Regions from separate parts of the Homo sapiens genome. Here region 1 is linked to region 2. The links are contacts of gene promoters, found by promoter capture Hi-C in human tissues and cell types (Jung and others, 2019). All regions are on one chromosome and are shown on one strand. The core of a region is centred on a gene start or on the middle of the fragment in contact, and the rest is flanking DNA. Distances in the headings are between cores, read along the strand shown.

Region 1 (7,432 bases), core at 4,017-6,516, 110 kb after region 2:
GAGTTCCCAAGTATTTCAGAATTTTCCAGAGATATTCCATTATTTTGTAATTTAATTAATAGAGAATCTTTTATTTTATTTTATTTTATTTTATTTTGAGACAGAGTCTTGCTCTGTCGCCCAGGCTGGAGTGCAGTGGCGTGATCTCGGCTCACTGCAAGCTCTGCCTCCCGGGTTCATGCCATTCTCCTGCCTCAGCCTCCCGAGTAGCTGGGACTACAGGCACCCACTACCACATCCGGCTAATTTTTTTGTATTTTTAGTAGAGACGGGATTTCACCGCGTTAGCCAGGATGGTCTCGATCTCCTGACCTCGTGTTCTGCCTGCCTTGGCCTCTGAAAGTGCTGGGATTACATGCGTGAACCACAACACCCAGCTGAGAATCTTTAAAATTAAAAACACCACCACAATACTATTATCCCATCTTTAAAAAGCAACAGTTCAGAAAGAAGGAGGACAATTTGAAAGAATACAGAAAGGATCAGAGAGATCGGTGTCAGTCAAGAAAGCCTGATAAAAGGCCAGTGGAGTGACTCATGCAGAGTAGAGGGAGTGGATGAGAAGAGAAAGGGAGAGACACATAGTCACCAGGGACAATCAAAGGAAAAGTAAGTGTAATTTTGTAGTTGATTGAAGAGGAAGATGGAGGAAGGTAAAAGAAAGCTGTGTTGAATTAAACTCTAGAGTGATCAAAGCTGTGGTGGTTAGGATTGGAAGAGGGTGGCACACACTTAGATTGGGTGACAAAGTTTGTAGTTGTCTAGAAGAACCTCTGAAGTTTCTCTGCTTAAGTCGGAGTGGAAGCAGCCCTGGGGATTGTAGTGGAAAGGGAGAGCTATATGTCTACTAGTACTGTGACAAGATAGAAGAAAGTAAGTTTAGGATAAAGGGAAATTTGTCCTTCTGGTTGTAGTGGGAAGGAAAGGAGATGGATGCTTACTGTAATTCTGTGGGCTGAGCATTTTCCTTGTTAGTTTCCACACATCGTTTGATGTGGTTCTTATAGCATCCTATGTGTTAGCTGTTTCTACTTAAAGATGAAAGACCGAAATTTGGAGATGAGTAATATGCCCAGAGCCAGATAACTAATAAGTAGTGGAGTTGTTAGCATTTGAACGCATATTCTACCCAACCAGTCTGAGTTCTTTCCACTTGGTATGTAAATTCATGAATACAAGCCAGCAAATGTCCCAGGCTGCTCCTATTCAAAGAGCTGCCTTCTGTGTATCACGTGGTCTATGTTAAGTGTTATGATCTAAAACAATACTGCTGTTTTTTTTTTTGTTGTTTTGTTTTGTTTTTTTTGAGACGGAGTCTTGCTCTGTCGCCCAGGCTGGAGTGCAGTGTCGCGGTCTCAGCTCACTGCGACCTCCGCTTCCTGGGTTCAAGTGATTCTCCTGCCTCAGCCTTGAGTAGCTGGGATTACAGGCACCCACCACCAAGCCCGGCTAATTTTTGTATTTTTGGTAGAGACGGGGTTTCACTATGTTGGCCAGGCTAATCTTGAACTCCTGACCTCATGATCCGCCCGCCTCAGCCTCCCAAAGTTCTGGGATTACAGGCGTGAGCTACCGCGCCTGGCGCGCTGTTCTTTTTTGAAAAGAAAATCTTGATTTTGTGTTTTGAAGTCCTTAAAAGCGATTGTTTATTTAAGCTAAAATAATCAAGTTACTCATTTATTCAGTAAATCAGATTCGACAGGCAACATTCTCAGAGGCATGTATATGTGTGTAGGGCTTTGGTGATTTTTTGGTGATGTTTGTAACCTAGAATATAGTTTCGAAGGCTTAGATTTAAGACTTCCATCTGATAAAGTGGGGGTAAGCTGCAGTGAAATCTGCATGGTAGTCTATTCTTGACACTTGCTGTTAGTAGTAACCTTTTACTGAAAGTCAAAGTTTGCTTATGTCTTACAGTACTGTTCTGAAAGTTTACTTTTTAAAAATGAGAATGAAATATTGGGAAGAAACATCATAGTTATTTTACATATTCTGTTTTTTTAGTACCTGATTGGTTATGTTATATTGACATTCTCGCATGTAATTACACTTTATTGCTTGAACTTGCAATACATTGCTCCTGAGATAAAGACATAGGTGAAGCTTATCCTAAGTTGGTAACAGCAAAATTATTGTATTAATAATTGAGTCATATGGTGTGTTTCGGCATTTTAACAAGGAAGTATGGACCATGACATTTTGAATTTGAAAGGAAGTACTTTTTACTGCTTTCCTCTTTTTCTGTCTTATATCTTTGTCCTACCACTAAGAAGTGAGTAAAGTTCTAGACTCAGTTATAGGATATCTTAATAACAGGCCGTGAACTGTGTCACTGATTAACTGACCTATCTAGTAAGAGTTAGGATTTACTTCTGACATTCATGTACTTTTTGCAGTAATTCAGGCTATTCACATCATAGCTTTGCTTTTGTCTGTTTTTCAAGTAAGAGGCTGAGGCAGAAGAATCATTTGAACCCTGCAGGCAGAGGTTACAGTGAGCTGAGATCGCGCCACTGCACTCCAGCCTGGGCTACAAAGCGAGACCCTGTCTCCAAAAAAATGAAAATTAAAAATAAGTAAATGTGAATTTCAGATAAATAGTGATGACTTTTTTGGTCTAAGTATACCCTAAATGTTGTCTGGATAAAAGACACTTAGGTGAGTGCTGTGGCCAGAAAGGTAAGAGGGATGGGGGGCCAACCAACTAGAGACAAGGGAAGGTATCACTAAGGACACGGCAGTGGAGCTGAGTCCTGAAGTGATGCACGAGCAGTTATTTCTCAGGGAGGAAAGTGGTAAGGGGTTTTCAGGGGTAGGAACAGTAGGAGCCAAAGTGTGGGTATGTGAGAGTGTGTGACTATGTGTGCACGTAAAATGGAAATGAGATGGAGGGATGGGTTGGAGCCTGGATTTGAAGAAGCAGGTATCGGCGCTGGGGTATTTGGCCTGGGACAGTGAGGCATTATTTTACAGGAGAGTGGCCTGGTGGGATGTGTGCTTTAGAGTGTGGACACACAGCTGTGGCACAGAAGGATTGCTGGCAGGGGAGGGCGACAGGAGGCTGCCAGAGTTGTCCAGCTGGACTTCTTCCCTGACACAGACAGGCTGGCATAGGATTGGTGTGGTAGTGGGGATGGGAAGGAGGGAATGCCGCGAGGTCAGGAACTTCTTCCAGTCGCCAAGAGGCGTCTTGACCGTTTAAAAATGTCTCTGAAGATTTAGCACACCAAGGCCCCCTATAGTCCCAGGGTATAGGCCACCCTTGAGATTAGAAAGAAACCCCTGGGAGCTGTGGTGGGGTGGATGTGGCTGTTGGAGGTGCCCCTATTCAGACTCCTGCTCTACCATTTGCTTCGGGATCACCTTTTACAGTGGATCTGATATTATAATACCCACTTCTTATGATGTAAAGGAACTGAATGAGTGTGGAATCCCTAGGACCCCGCTGGAATATAATGGGCCCTCGGGGTTTAGTTTCTTTCCTTCTTGCCGGTGAGGTTTGAGAGGGACTGGAGAACAGTGGATTTCGACCATCCATTTGGGGTTGTCAGTCTGTGCCAGGCCAGCTGGAAACTACAAAAAGGAGGTACAGGTAAGCAATAAGGCCCTGTGGTTCATCTCAGATTTCATTCCGGGAGATCAGAGAGAGCCCTTCCTGGAACTGTATCCTTTCCTGGGGAATATGGGTGGAAATCCAAGGGCCCTGTGCATAGATTTTCCCTTCTCTTTCAGCTCTGCCAGCTGCCAGAACTGTGGCTTTCTCAGCAGATTGTCTGTACACATGAGACCTTTTTTACGGAACGATTTACAGAAAGACAAACCCTTCCTTCCAAGTTTAACCAGTCCCCTTATACCAAGGTTTCCCAGCCTTGACTGTATTGATATTTTAGGCTGTATAATTCTTTGTCGTGGGGGGCTGTCCAGTGTGTTGTAGGGAGTTTACTAGGATTCCTGGCCTCTTACACACTCACTGTCTGTAGCACCTTGCCTCCCACCCAGTTGTGACAACGAAAAATGTGTACAGGAAGTGCCAAATATCCCCTAGGGTACAAAATTGTCCCCTACCCCTCATTAAGTACCACTGCTTTATACTCACTAGACACAGGGAAAAAGAACTTCTTAGCATTTTTTATTAATTTCTTTTTAACCTAACCAGTGAAATGCTTGTTGAAAAAAAGACTTAGTTTTTACTACACTGAATTTGAATTCTATTTTAACTTATTTAGTTTAGAAAGACTTCTCAAATCCAAAATTTTAAGCTTTTTTTTTTTTTTTTTTTTTTTTTTTTTGGACATATCCTTGCTCTGTTGCCCAGGCTGGAGTGCAATGGCGTGATCTTGGCTCACTGCAACTTCTGCCTCCTGGGTTCAAGCGATTCTCCTGCCTCAGCTTCCTCAGTAGCTGGAATTACAGGTGTCTGCCACCACACTTGGCTAATTTTTGTACTTTTAGTAGAGACGGGTTTTCACCATGTTGGTCAGGCTGGTCTTGAACTCCTGACCTTGTGATCCGCCTGCCTTGGCCTCCCAAAGTGCTGGGATTACAGGCGTGAGCCATTGCTCCCAGCCAATTATAAGCTTTTTAGAAAGGATTTTTTACATTGTTATATTTGAACCATTAATGAAGTGCAAAATGAAATGTTTCATTTAGTATTTCACATCAGAGGTTGTTATAAATGTACAAATAGATTGATGTTTTGAATTAAAACTATGGCTGACAGTTAATTTTATCGATACCAAATTGTGCAAGTTTAAACTGCCTGCCAAGAGTCTGAGCATAAAGCTGTGGTTTGAAAGGATCCTGAATAAACGTTTTCTTTTTGTAAATATTCAGAAACTTTGGCTAAGGAGGTAGTGGCCAGAGGAGACGCAAAATTTTTTGCATTCTGGCAGTTTGAACTTTGGGAACGAATGTGTTTTGGACTAAATCTGGAAAAATCACTTATGTACTGTTGCCAGACATTCTTTTAGGCTGTCCTTTTCCAGGCTTGTCACTTGTCTGGAATGTTAAGTGTTGTCAGTAGTTTAACGTCCTTTCCAGCAGCTTGCATTAAAGTGAGAGAAGATCTCCAGAAATGGATCTGAAGAGGTCTTGGCATAAGATTAGGACTTTTATTTCATTATTTTTTAAAAAGTAGAAAGAAGGAGAAGACTTACATGGTTCTAAGTTTAAAAAAATCCAGGAAGCTTCTAATCGTTTCTAATTATTTTCTTGGGTTAAGCCTCATAGAATAATAGAAATCATAAGTTAGTGTGAGTGAGCTTTTCGTTGGCCAAAACAAGTGGGAATACAGTTGTGCTGTTTAGTGGCCATTTGAGTTGGTATTACTGATAACTACCTCCTTTTTTTTTTTTTTTAGCATCCTATGTGTAGTTGTGGTTGGTCTAGCATCCTATATGTAGTTGTGCTTGCTTTCCTCTCTAACCAAAGTTTGTTTTTCCTTTCTGTCCACGTGGGGTTATTATGAGAATCAGTGCCCTAGTATTTGTGCAGTGTGGGCTTTCCACATTGTCTGGCTGGTGCTTTCCAGGCAGCTTACTTTCATAGTTAAACGACAATGGCAACATCAACAAAGTGTCTCTGCCTCCTCATTACCCCCGGCTCTCTCCCCTTCACACATTTTTGAGATGTTCTTTATCCTTTTCTTTCCTACTCAGCTTTTTATTCCACTCCACTGCAGCATGACTTGGCCTCCATCCCTCCACTGGGGATTCATTGGCCCTGCTCACCATCACCTCCTTATCTTGATTAAAGTGGCCACTCAGGCGTGACTGAGCAGTCTTTCTCCTGTGGATTCACCTTGAGACTTTCTTAACTGGTTGGACAGGCAGAAAGGAGGGAATTGTGAGAAGAACTGGGTTAAAGCAGAAAGGAGCTGCATTTTCCTTCCGTGGCCATGAGGCTGTTTAAGGGGGAGTGCCTACCTGGAGTGGGGAGAGGACATAGAGTACAGTTTCTTTCGTCCTGGAGTTGGAGGTAGAAACAGGGGAGGTAGATCTGGATGCCATCTTTCCTCATAAGTCATAACCGATATCGTTGATTCCTGGAAATGGGAAACTACCCTGTTAAATGTACTACATGTTACAATTTTAGGCATAGTATAAAATCTGTCTTTAAAAATTAAGAAAGTACTGTCTTATAAAAACAAGCATTTAAAAGTTGTGCCTCAGTCAGTAAGCATTGAAGTTTTTTGAGCAGTACTGGACTTCTGTCTGGATTCAGACTGAGCAGAGAATCACATATCTGAAGGCATCTTACCCCTGCTTCTCTCTCCCTCCTGTCTGTTTCATGCACCTTGAATATATGCCAACTTGCACATGTGCAGTTTTTTGACATGACAAGGCTCAGACTTTCCCTCTTAGTAGTCCTTGACTTTTTCAGTGGAGTCTCACTCCAAGTCTTTAAAATGTGTACATAAAATGCACCTTTCTGAATGTGTGTCATAATTCACCATAAGAAAGGTTATGTATATGTTGAAGAATATAGGATCAATCCATTACATTATGATTTATTTGATTTAAACACTTCTTACTGGGTTTCTTTTGAAAGTTTTGATTGGCTTTTGGTAAGACACATGTTTTATCAAATCGATTGTTGATTTTGCTTCATTTAGCAGCATTCACTTTCTGACTCTGAAGTGGCCCTTTCCCTGAGTTATAGTTTCCCTTGACTGTGTGATTCTTTCTTCTCAGTGTTTTAAGTCTGTTCTTAATTTACAATTTTAATATGATCTCTACATTTTGAAAATGAAGTTTGTGAAATAAGAGAGATAAATATATTTAGATTGCTTAGGTTAAAAACCCTTTTTGGATTTTCAGTGGGTATTGATAGGCATAAAAAGTCATAATTAATAAGCAGTTCCTCTTAAATTGTTTGATTCCGTGTTCTGAAAGTACAGATTATGAAATGAAATTTTCGAACTTCTGAAAGCTACTAATCCACTCTCCTTTATAAACAAGGCTCACAGAGTGTGGGTGACTTGCACAAGGTCACATAGATGGTGCCAGACCTGGGACTGCAATCCAGGTCTCTTGATTTTTGTTCCAGTGTACTCCATACTATGTATTTTCATAATATGTAATTTTCAGTGGGAAAAACCCATAAGCTAATGTTGTTTGTTGACATCTGTGGGCCATGGTATATAATCTAATATAAGTAGTAGGTAAAAACAATCTTTAGTCATTCCTTATAAAGGGTTTCTTTTACAAAGTGTCTTTTGAATTGCTGCTTTTATTTTAATAAGGCAGTAGTCATACATGGGGCATGCAATATATTCTTCTGTAAATTATGATAGCTCATGTTATCTGGTCTTTACTGTGGGCTGCCAGCCTGCTAACCACTTTAGGCTCATTATTTCATTGAATCCTCTCAACATCCTTATAAGGAAGGTACATAGTATTACCAGCCCCCTTTTAAAATGAAGAAACAGATT
Region 2 (7,347 bases), core at 2,302-4,801:
GGCCTGGGGCAGGGGTGAGGGTGGGAGGGGGGCCTGGGGCAGGGGTGAAGGTGGCAGAGGGGCTTGGGGCAGAGCCCAGCCATCCTTGACCAGTGCCCCGCCCGGCCCTCTCCGCAGTCAGCCATCCTTTCTGCCCAGTCTGCTGCCAACGTGAGGAAGGAGAGCCTATGCCAGCCAGCCCTGGAGGTCCTGGAGACATCCAGCCAGGAGTCCTCGCTGGAGAGCGAGACAGACGAGGACGACGACTACATGGACATTTGAGGGGCCACTGCAGCCCCACCGCCACGCCCCAGGGGACCAGCCAGGCCTGGAATGCCCCCTGGGCAGGACCCTGGGCAGGACCAGAGGCCCACATGGATGCCACTCCCCACACAGCCCCCAGGCCTGCCCAGCCCACCTCCTCATGGCATCCTCCCTGTACCCAGGTCAGGCTGTCCACACCACATGGGAGCCCAGAGGAGGAGGGGCCCGCCTTAGCCATGTGAAGGTGGATTGGTCGCCATCTGCACGCCAGGCGGCATCCTTTTCTATGAAGTGTTGACTTTGTAAATCTGCCCACACCCAGCTGGCCATATCCACCCCTCGACGCCGGGATGAGCCGGCTCTGCCTGTGTCACAGTGGAGGGGTCCTTTAGGGCCAGGCTCACCCCTCACCCTTTTTTTGGTTGCTTTTCTAATAAAGATGGAACAGTTGTCTTTGCCTCTTTGCTCACCTCTAGGGGGCAATCTGGCAGAGTCTCTGGCGGAGAGTTGCTGTCCCCAGGGATTCTGGGCCTTTACTGCCATAGTCCATAGGGCAGGGCCTAGCCCCCCTCCTTCTCCAGCATCTCAGGGACCAGCCAGGCAACCAAAGCAGCGGCTGGGGGTGCCCAGTGGGGTAAGGAGAGAGCCGACTCGGGGCTGGGCCAGGCAGACGCCTCTAGTGCAGCTGGAGCCAGGCTTCAAAGGGGAGTTAGGTGCATCCCCAGAACGCACCTGGGTGCCAGTGGGTGGGAGGCTGTACGGTGGGAGGGCAGGCAGGGCTGGGGCAGCTGAGAGGCTGGGAGGAGGGGGCTGTCAGGGAGGGAAAGGGGGGATGGGGCCGGCAGGGAGGGTACTTAACTCCCATCACAGTCGCCCTAATGGGGCCAGTCACAGAATAGCTGGGCTCAGTGCAAGACATAAATATGAAGCTCCTTGATCAAAAAGGATTAAGGATTTTTTTTTTTTTTTTTTTTTTTTTTTGATATGGAGTCTCACTCTGTCTCCCAGGCTGGAATGCAGTGGCACGATCTGCAGTGGCACGATCTCAGCTCACTGCAACCCCCGCCTTCTGGATTCAAGCGATTCTCTTGCCTCAGCCTCCCGAGTAGCTGAGATCACAGGCACACGCCAACACGCCCAGCTAATTTTTGTATTTTTAGTATAGACGGAGTTTCACCATGTTGGCCAGGCTGGTTTCAAACTCCTGACCTCAAGTGATCCACCCACCTTGGCCTCCCAAAGTGCTGGGATTACAGGCCTGAGCCACCACCATGTCTGACCAAAAATGATTAAGGATTTTAAGGCAGGCCCCACAGAGCATTAAGCCCCTAGAGCTGGCACCCTTCACAACTCTCTTCCCCTCCCAGCACCGCAGGGGCCCTCCTGGCCCTGGGACCTCCCATGGAGCAGGCTCTCTGTCCAGGATGGAGATGGGGACCCTCCTCACTGCCCTGTGCCCCTCATGGGCTGGACATGCCCACCACCCAGGAGGAAAGGCGTAAAGGGCTGGGCACCGCCCTTTTGGAACCAGAGGCTTGGTGGCCCCAGATGGGTCTGGCTGAACCCGCCTTTCGGGGGGCTGAGATAAGCCAGCCCCAGTTACTCAGCTGACGCCCCCTCCCTGCAGGGCCTGGGGTATGGAGCTTCCCAGACTGCACACCTAGCCCCTACCGCACTTCCATTGTCTCCAGACACGCGCAGCAACGGTGCCCAGGCCAAAAACAGGAAGCAGCAGCTCTCCCTCCTCCAGTTCCCGGGAACTGTCTCAGCCGATCCCCCAGCACCCCTCCCTGGAGCCTCACCTATAGGAGGACGGACACCTCGGACCCTCCCCTGCACCCAGTGCTGTAGGGAGCAACTTCAGCCCTGGGCCTGGGATGAATGCCCTCGCCAGCCTGGGGCCAGGAGACAGGCTCTCCCTGGCTCAGCACCTGAGCGTCCACTTACAGGACACTCACCTGCAGAGGTGCCCTGAGCGCCATTGTGGGTTAAGGGACTTTCTCCCCTCTGGAGACAGTCCCTGAGAAGCTGAAGGTCTTGGGGGCCTCTCACCAAATGTCTTTGGGAGGTGGGAAAACATCAAATGCGGGTGTGGCTTCCCTGGAACAGCTCTGTGTGGGGACTCAGGAGCCAAGTCCCCCAGCACACGCCTCTAACACTTTCAGTAGGGGCCACCTCTCTGGAGCCACGGGTGGCTGCCAACACCCTGTGGTTCCCAGCAGGCACCACCCAGGCAAGAGAGAGAACAGGCCGGGGAACAATGGGCTGGCCTGGCCGCAAGCGCTGGGGCAGATCACAGACCGGATGGCCTAAGCTCATGCCCTGGGGCCACCTCTGACTCCCTGCAAGTGTGGCAAGGGTCCCTTTTGGACACCTTGAGAAGCTGCAGCTGGGAGAGGACCACCCGCCTGTCTGGATGTCCAGCCCAGGTGTCAGGGTCCAAATGACCAGTCCCAGGCCGCAGCCCTTACCACCCGCCCTGGCTGCAGGGGCTCCCAGAAGCCACCAAGGGCCTGGCTCGGCCTTGCCTATCCGCATCTGAGCTTCAGTTTCCTCATCTGCTCAAGAAGGGAGGTGAATACTGATTAAATTATGCAAACTCTTAGCGGCAGGATTAGGTGTGGCTGGGACAGCCAAGGCTCCCCAGGGTGGTGGCATCTCTGGAGCCCGGGGATGGGCCCTGTCTCCCTTCCGGGCCCCCCGCTGGGCTTGGGTACCTTCTCTCCCCTTCCTCCTTCCTCCCTCCAGAGGGGACCCCTGCAGAGCTGCCTCCGCCCCAGGGCTCAGCCTGTGTCTGACCCAAACAGCTCCTGCCTCCCCCTGAGGATGAGTTGGGTGCACCTCCTTCCTGCAGGAAGATGAGGGCTAGAGATGGAGGTCTATGTCAGGGCCACAGAGTCTGGAATCCTCCCTGGAGCTAAAACAGCCCTGCCTTATTCACCCTGCGCATCCCATCCTCTGCTTCAGCCCCGCCGGGCTCGCCCTGCATGCAAGGCGGGGCTGGGACCCAGGGTCTGAGCTTCGCCCTCTGGACATCCGGCTCATCGCCTGCCAAAGGTCCTGTGGCTGGAGGCTCCGGCCTCCTCACCCTCCCACAGGGTCCCAGGGCCGATCCAGGCCTGCGGGCCAGGAATGTGCTAACGGGGCAACTTGGGCCTTGCTGGTCCACGCAGGCACCTGTGGACTTTGAGAGGGGACTGGGTGGGGAGGGGCGGGGAGGGGCGGGGCGGGGCGGTGCCGCAGAGTGCAGGGCGGGCGGGGCCAGGCCAGCAGGGAGTGAGCTTGTCTGGCCGCCTCGCCTCGGAGCCACTGCACTGCTGGCTGCAGACACAGGCTGCACCATGAAGCCAGCCCTCCTGCCCTGGGCCCTGCTGCTGCTGGCGACAGCCCTCGGCCCGGGCCCCGGACCCACAGCAGGTATGCCTCCCTGCCCTTCTGTGTCCCCGTCTGTCTGTCCATCTGTCTGCAGCCAGGCCTGGGCTGACATCCCTCTGGGCTCAGCCTCTGTCCATCTGTCAGGCCATCTGTGGCTGTGCTAGGGGTGATGGGAAGAAATTCTGAGGGTCCATGTGGAGGGGCAGCCCATGGGGATGGGAGGTCTGAGCCGGGCCCACCCTAAACCTGCTGGTAGCTAGGAGGGAGGCGGGGGAGACCAGCAGAGGCCTCCGCCTGTGTCCCCAGCCCTGACAGGGCGGGATCACGGAGGGGGAGCCAGGATTGTGGGTCCTCATCAGGGTGGGGCTGAATCCAGGAAAGTCTAGGGAAAGCCCCGAACTCCAGAACCAGGACACTGGTCCCAGGCTGCCCCCCGTCCCCCACCCCATTTCCCATCGACCCTCTTGCCACTTATCTCACTTGCAAGCATCTCTCGGCCTCCTCCCCCGACCCCTGTGCGCCACCAAATCCTTGGCCAGTACATATTTATTGTTGCTTTTAAGTGCCAGGCACTGCACTTGGTGAAGTGGGGCCAGCGGGGTGGCTCAGGCCCAGGCCTGGCCCTCGACTGGCCTCTTTTGATGGGGGATGGGGAAGGGCCAGGGAAGTGCAATTCCAGCCTGGGTGCATGCACCTGCCCCAGTCCCTCCCTGCAACCCTTCCTTCATGCCAGCCCCTGGAAATATGGCCTTGCCCACCGGTCTTATGGCCCATAGGAGAAGTTTTGGGCCCGGCGCCCACAGCCCCTTGTGGTGTGCACCCCCACTTCCCTTTCCCCACTGCTGGGACCCCTGCTTGAAATGTCCCTCCTCTCCCCAGAAAGGAGGGGAGCGGCCCTGGCCTTCTGCCCTGAGCACGGAGCTCTCTTTGGGGTCTCAATTGCAGCCCCTGGGAGAGCGAGAAGTGTCACGTTCAGACCCTGCACCATTCCCTACCAGGCCTCAAATGAGACTCTTGGCAGCCATATCCCCCACCCCAGTCCAGGCAAGCAAGAGGGGTTCTTCTGCAGGCTTCAGGGCCCCCAGAAGGCGTGCTGACCACAGACACCCTGGGGAGCCAAGAGAGGTCGAGGGCTCCAGCTACCGTGGCCCACTGAGGACCCCTGCCTGTGGGATAGAGGACTTGGTGGCTGAAGGGCAGTCATGCCCAGGGGCTTCTCCTGACCCTGCAGGGCTGAGCGGATGCAGCTTTTTGCCTCTTCTCGCTGCATTCTAGCCCGTCAGTCAGGGCAACAGCCAGATGGTCTGTGCTAAGATTCATCCCATCCCCACGGGCCCTGTGGCTTTCTACTGTGTCCACCTGGTGGCCTGTGCAGTTCCTGGCCAGCGTTCTCCTGGGGATGCTGCTGTCTAATGGGCTGTGGGAGAAACAGAGACAGGCCCTGCACATGGGGCAGCCAGTCCAGTACCCGCCGGGCCAGGCCCTCAGCATCCTCTCCTCCAGATGCCCAAGAGAGCTGCTCCATGCGCTGTGGCGCCCTGGACGGGCCATGTTCCTGCCACCCGACGTGCTCTGGCCTTGGCACCTGCTGCTTGGATTTCCGGGACTTCTGCCTGGAGATATTGCCCTACTCAGGATCCATGATGGGCGGCAAGGACTTTGTGGTGCGGCACTTCAAGATGTCCAGCCCCACAGACGCCAGTGTGATCTGCAGGTTGGGAGGCCCAGGAGGCCGGGCACTGGGGCCCCACGCCCCCATCCCTGTGCATGCTGAGGGCTCAGACCCACTGACTGGCTGAGTGGAGCCCCTCGGACCCAGGACAGGCAGGAGGGCACAGGGACAGCTGGCTGGTTGGGTTCCCCAGGGAGGTTGGGGGCCCAGACCATCGAGAGGCTCAGCCTGCAATGACCCAGCCCCTCCCACCACCACCACGCCCACAGGTTTAAGGACAGCATCCAGACCCTCGGCCATGTGGACTCCTCCGGGCAAGTGCACTGTGTGTCACCTCTGCTCTATGAGAGCGGCCGCATCCCCTTCACTGTGTCACTGGACAACGGCCACTCCTTCCCTCGTGCGGGCACCTGGCTGGCTGGTGAGCCCTCCTCCCTGCCCACAGCCTGCCCCCACGGGGACTTTCCCCAGCGCTAATCTATGCACACCGAGACTTGGCCTGTCCGTGCCCTGCCTCTCTGGCTGAACCAGTCCCTTGGGAGGCCTGCCCGCCTGCGAGAGTTCCTTCAGCTCCTTTCCACTCCCTGGCATCCAGACCGCGGTCCCAGCCCAGAGTGAGTGGGAGCTGCAGGGGTCCCTAGAGAGGTGGGCCAGTGCCTATCCACTGAGCTCCGCCATGCCAGGGCAGGGGAGAAGCCAGGTCGAGGCTAGAGGCGTGGGCAGTGGAGGGAGGGCAGGCCCCTGCCTCTGCGGCCTCAGCGTCCTTTTCTGCTGTGCGGGCCAGAGAGACCATCACCCAGCTGCTGCCATGCATTGGCCCTGGAGGCTCCCACAGCCCTTGAAGCCTCAGGGCCTCCTCCCTGCTTCCCTGGGCCCAGGCCCTCACTCACCCCTCACCTCCCCTGCCCAGTGCACCCCAACAAAGTGTCAATGATGGAGAAGAGCGAGTTGGTGAACGAGACGCGTTGGCAATACTACGGCACCGCCAACACCTCAGGCAACCTCAGCCTGACCTGGCATGTCAAGTCGCTGCCCACGCAGACCATCACCATCGAACTGTGGGGCTACGAGGAGACAGGTGAGGCCAGCTGAGGGCTGGGGTGGCATCAGAGCTTTGGGCCCCCAGAGGGGGAGAAAGGGGGTCCCAGCTGTGTGGGAGGAGGAAGGGAGTTTCCAGGTGGGGTTGAGGAGGGAAGGGAATTCCAGGCAGAGATTGAGGATTCGGATGGAGGGAAGTGCAGGTCAGGGGGGTCAGGCAGGTGGGAGGGGGCAGCTCATGGGGCCTGGCTCCAGGGGAGGAGGCTCATGAGGAACCCCTGCACGGCTGGCATGGCCCTGGGCCCAGCTTCCAGCAGGGACAGGGATCCTGGAGTGTGGCAGGAGGTGATGGTCACCCAAGCCGGGGTCCCTGCTAGAACAGCCCCTCCTAAGGGGACCGCCTGGCGGTCCATCCACCCATCTGTCAGGCTGCTGTAGGTGGCAAGGCCTGGGGCCAGGCCTCGAAGGAACCCCAGGGCTAACCAGGCATCCTCTCCCTCAGGAATGCCCTACTCACAGGAGTGGACTGCAAAGTGGTCGTACCTGTACCCCCTGGCCACACACATCCCCAACTCCGGCTCTTTCACTTTCACCCCAAAACCTGCTCCTCCCAGCTACCAGAGATGGCGAGTGGGTGCACTTCGGATCATCGACAGCAAAAATTACGCAGGGCAGAAGTAAGAAGGCATGGATGTGCAGGTGATGGCTGGAGGGCCTCGCCGCCCGAGGCCCATCATGCTTGCCTGGGCAGCCCAGGCTGGGGGTGGGGAGAGTGGGGCGACCATGGGGTGGTGTGGGCTGGCCCAGCTCCAGCATCATCACCTCCACAGGGACGTGCAGGCGCTCTGGACCAACGACCACGCACTGGCCTGGCACCTGAGCGATGACTTCCGAGAGGACCCTGTGGCCTGGGCACGAACTCAGTGCCAGGCCTGGGAGGAGCTGGAGGATCAGCTGCCCAACTTCCTGGAGGAGCTGCCGGACTGCCCCTGCACCCTGACCCAGGCCCGGGCTGACTC

Evidence for each region. The method cuts DNA at HindIII sites, captures the fragments that hold promoters and counts their contacts. A contact is called where the count stands out against the background at its distance.
Region 1: a fragment that was not itself captured here is called in contact with the fragment with the promoter of SUSD2 in region 2 in 2 of the 25 tissues and cell types used here (aorta and pancreas).

What each region holds. Positions count from the first base shown.
Region 1 is chr22:24,284,356-24,291,787 of GRCh38, forward strand. The region is part of intron 2 of SPECC1L (sperm antigen with calponin homology and coiled-coil domains 1 like); the gene reads left to right. The region is part of intron 2 of SPECC1L-ADORA2A (SPECC1L-ADORA2A readthrough (NMD candidate)); the gene reads left to right. Among named protein-coding and RNA genes, the nearest start is that of SPECC1L, 17 kb to the left of the region's middle. RefSeq lists an enhancer at 1-307. The HindIII fragment of the contact is 4,170 bases long and covers 3,182-7,351 here.
Region 2 is chr22:24,177,936-24,185,282 of GRCh38, forward strand. SUSD2 (sushi domain containing 2) reads left to right here and starts at 3,552. Exons shown (of 15, transcript NM_019601.4): 1 at 3,552-3,660; 2 at 5,122-5,332; 3 at 5,560-5,711; 4 at 6,201-6,368; 5 at 6,831-7,005; 6 at 7,159-7,347. The coding sequence starts at 3,585. It overlaps CABIN1 (calcineurin binding protein 1), which reads left to right. Exons shown (of 37, transcript NM_012295.4): 37 at 118-693. The coding sequence ends at 261. RefSeq lists enhancers at 5,522-5,601, 5,672-5,781. The HindIII fragment of the contact is 36,064 bases long and covers 1-7,347 here.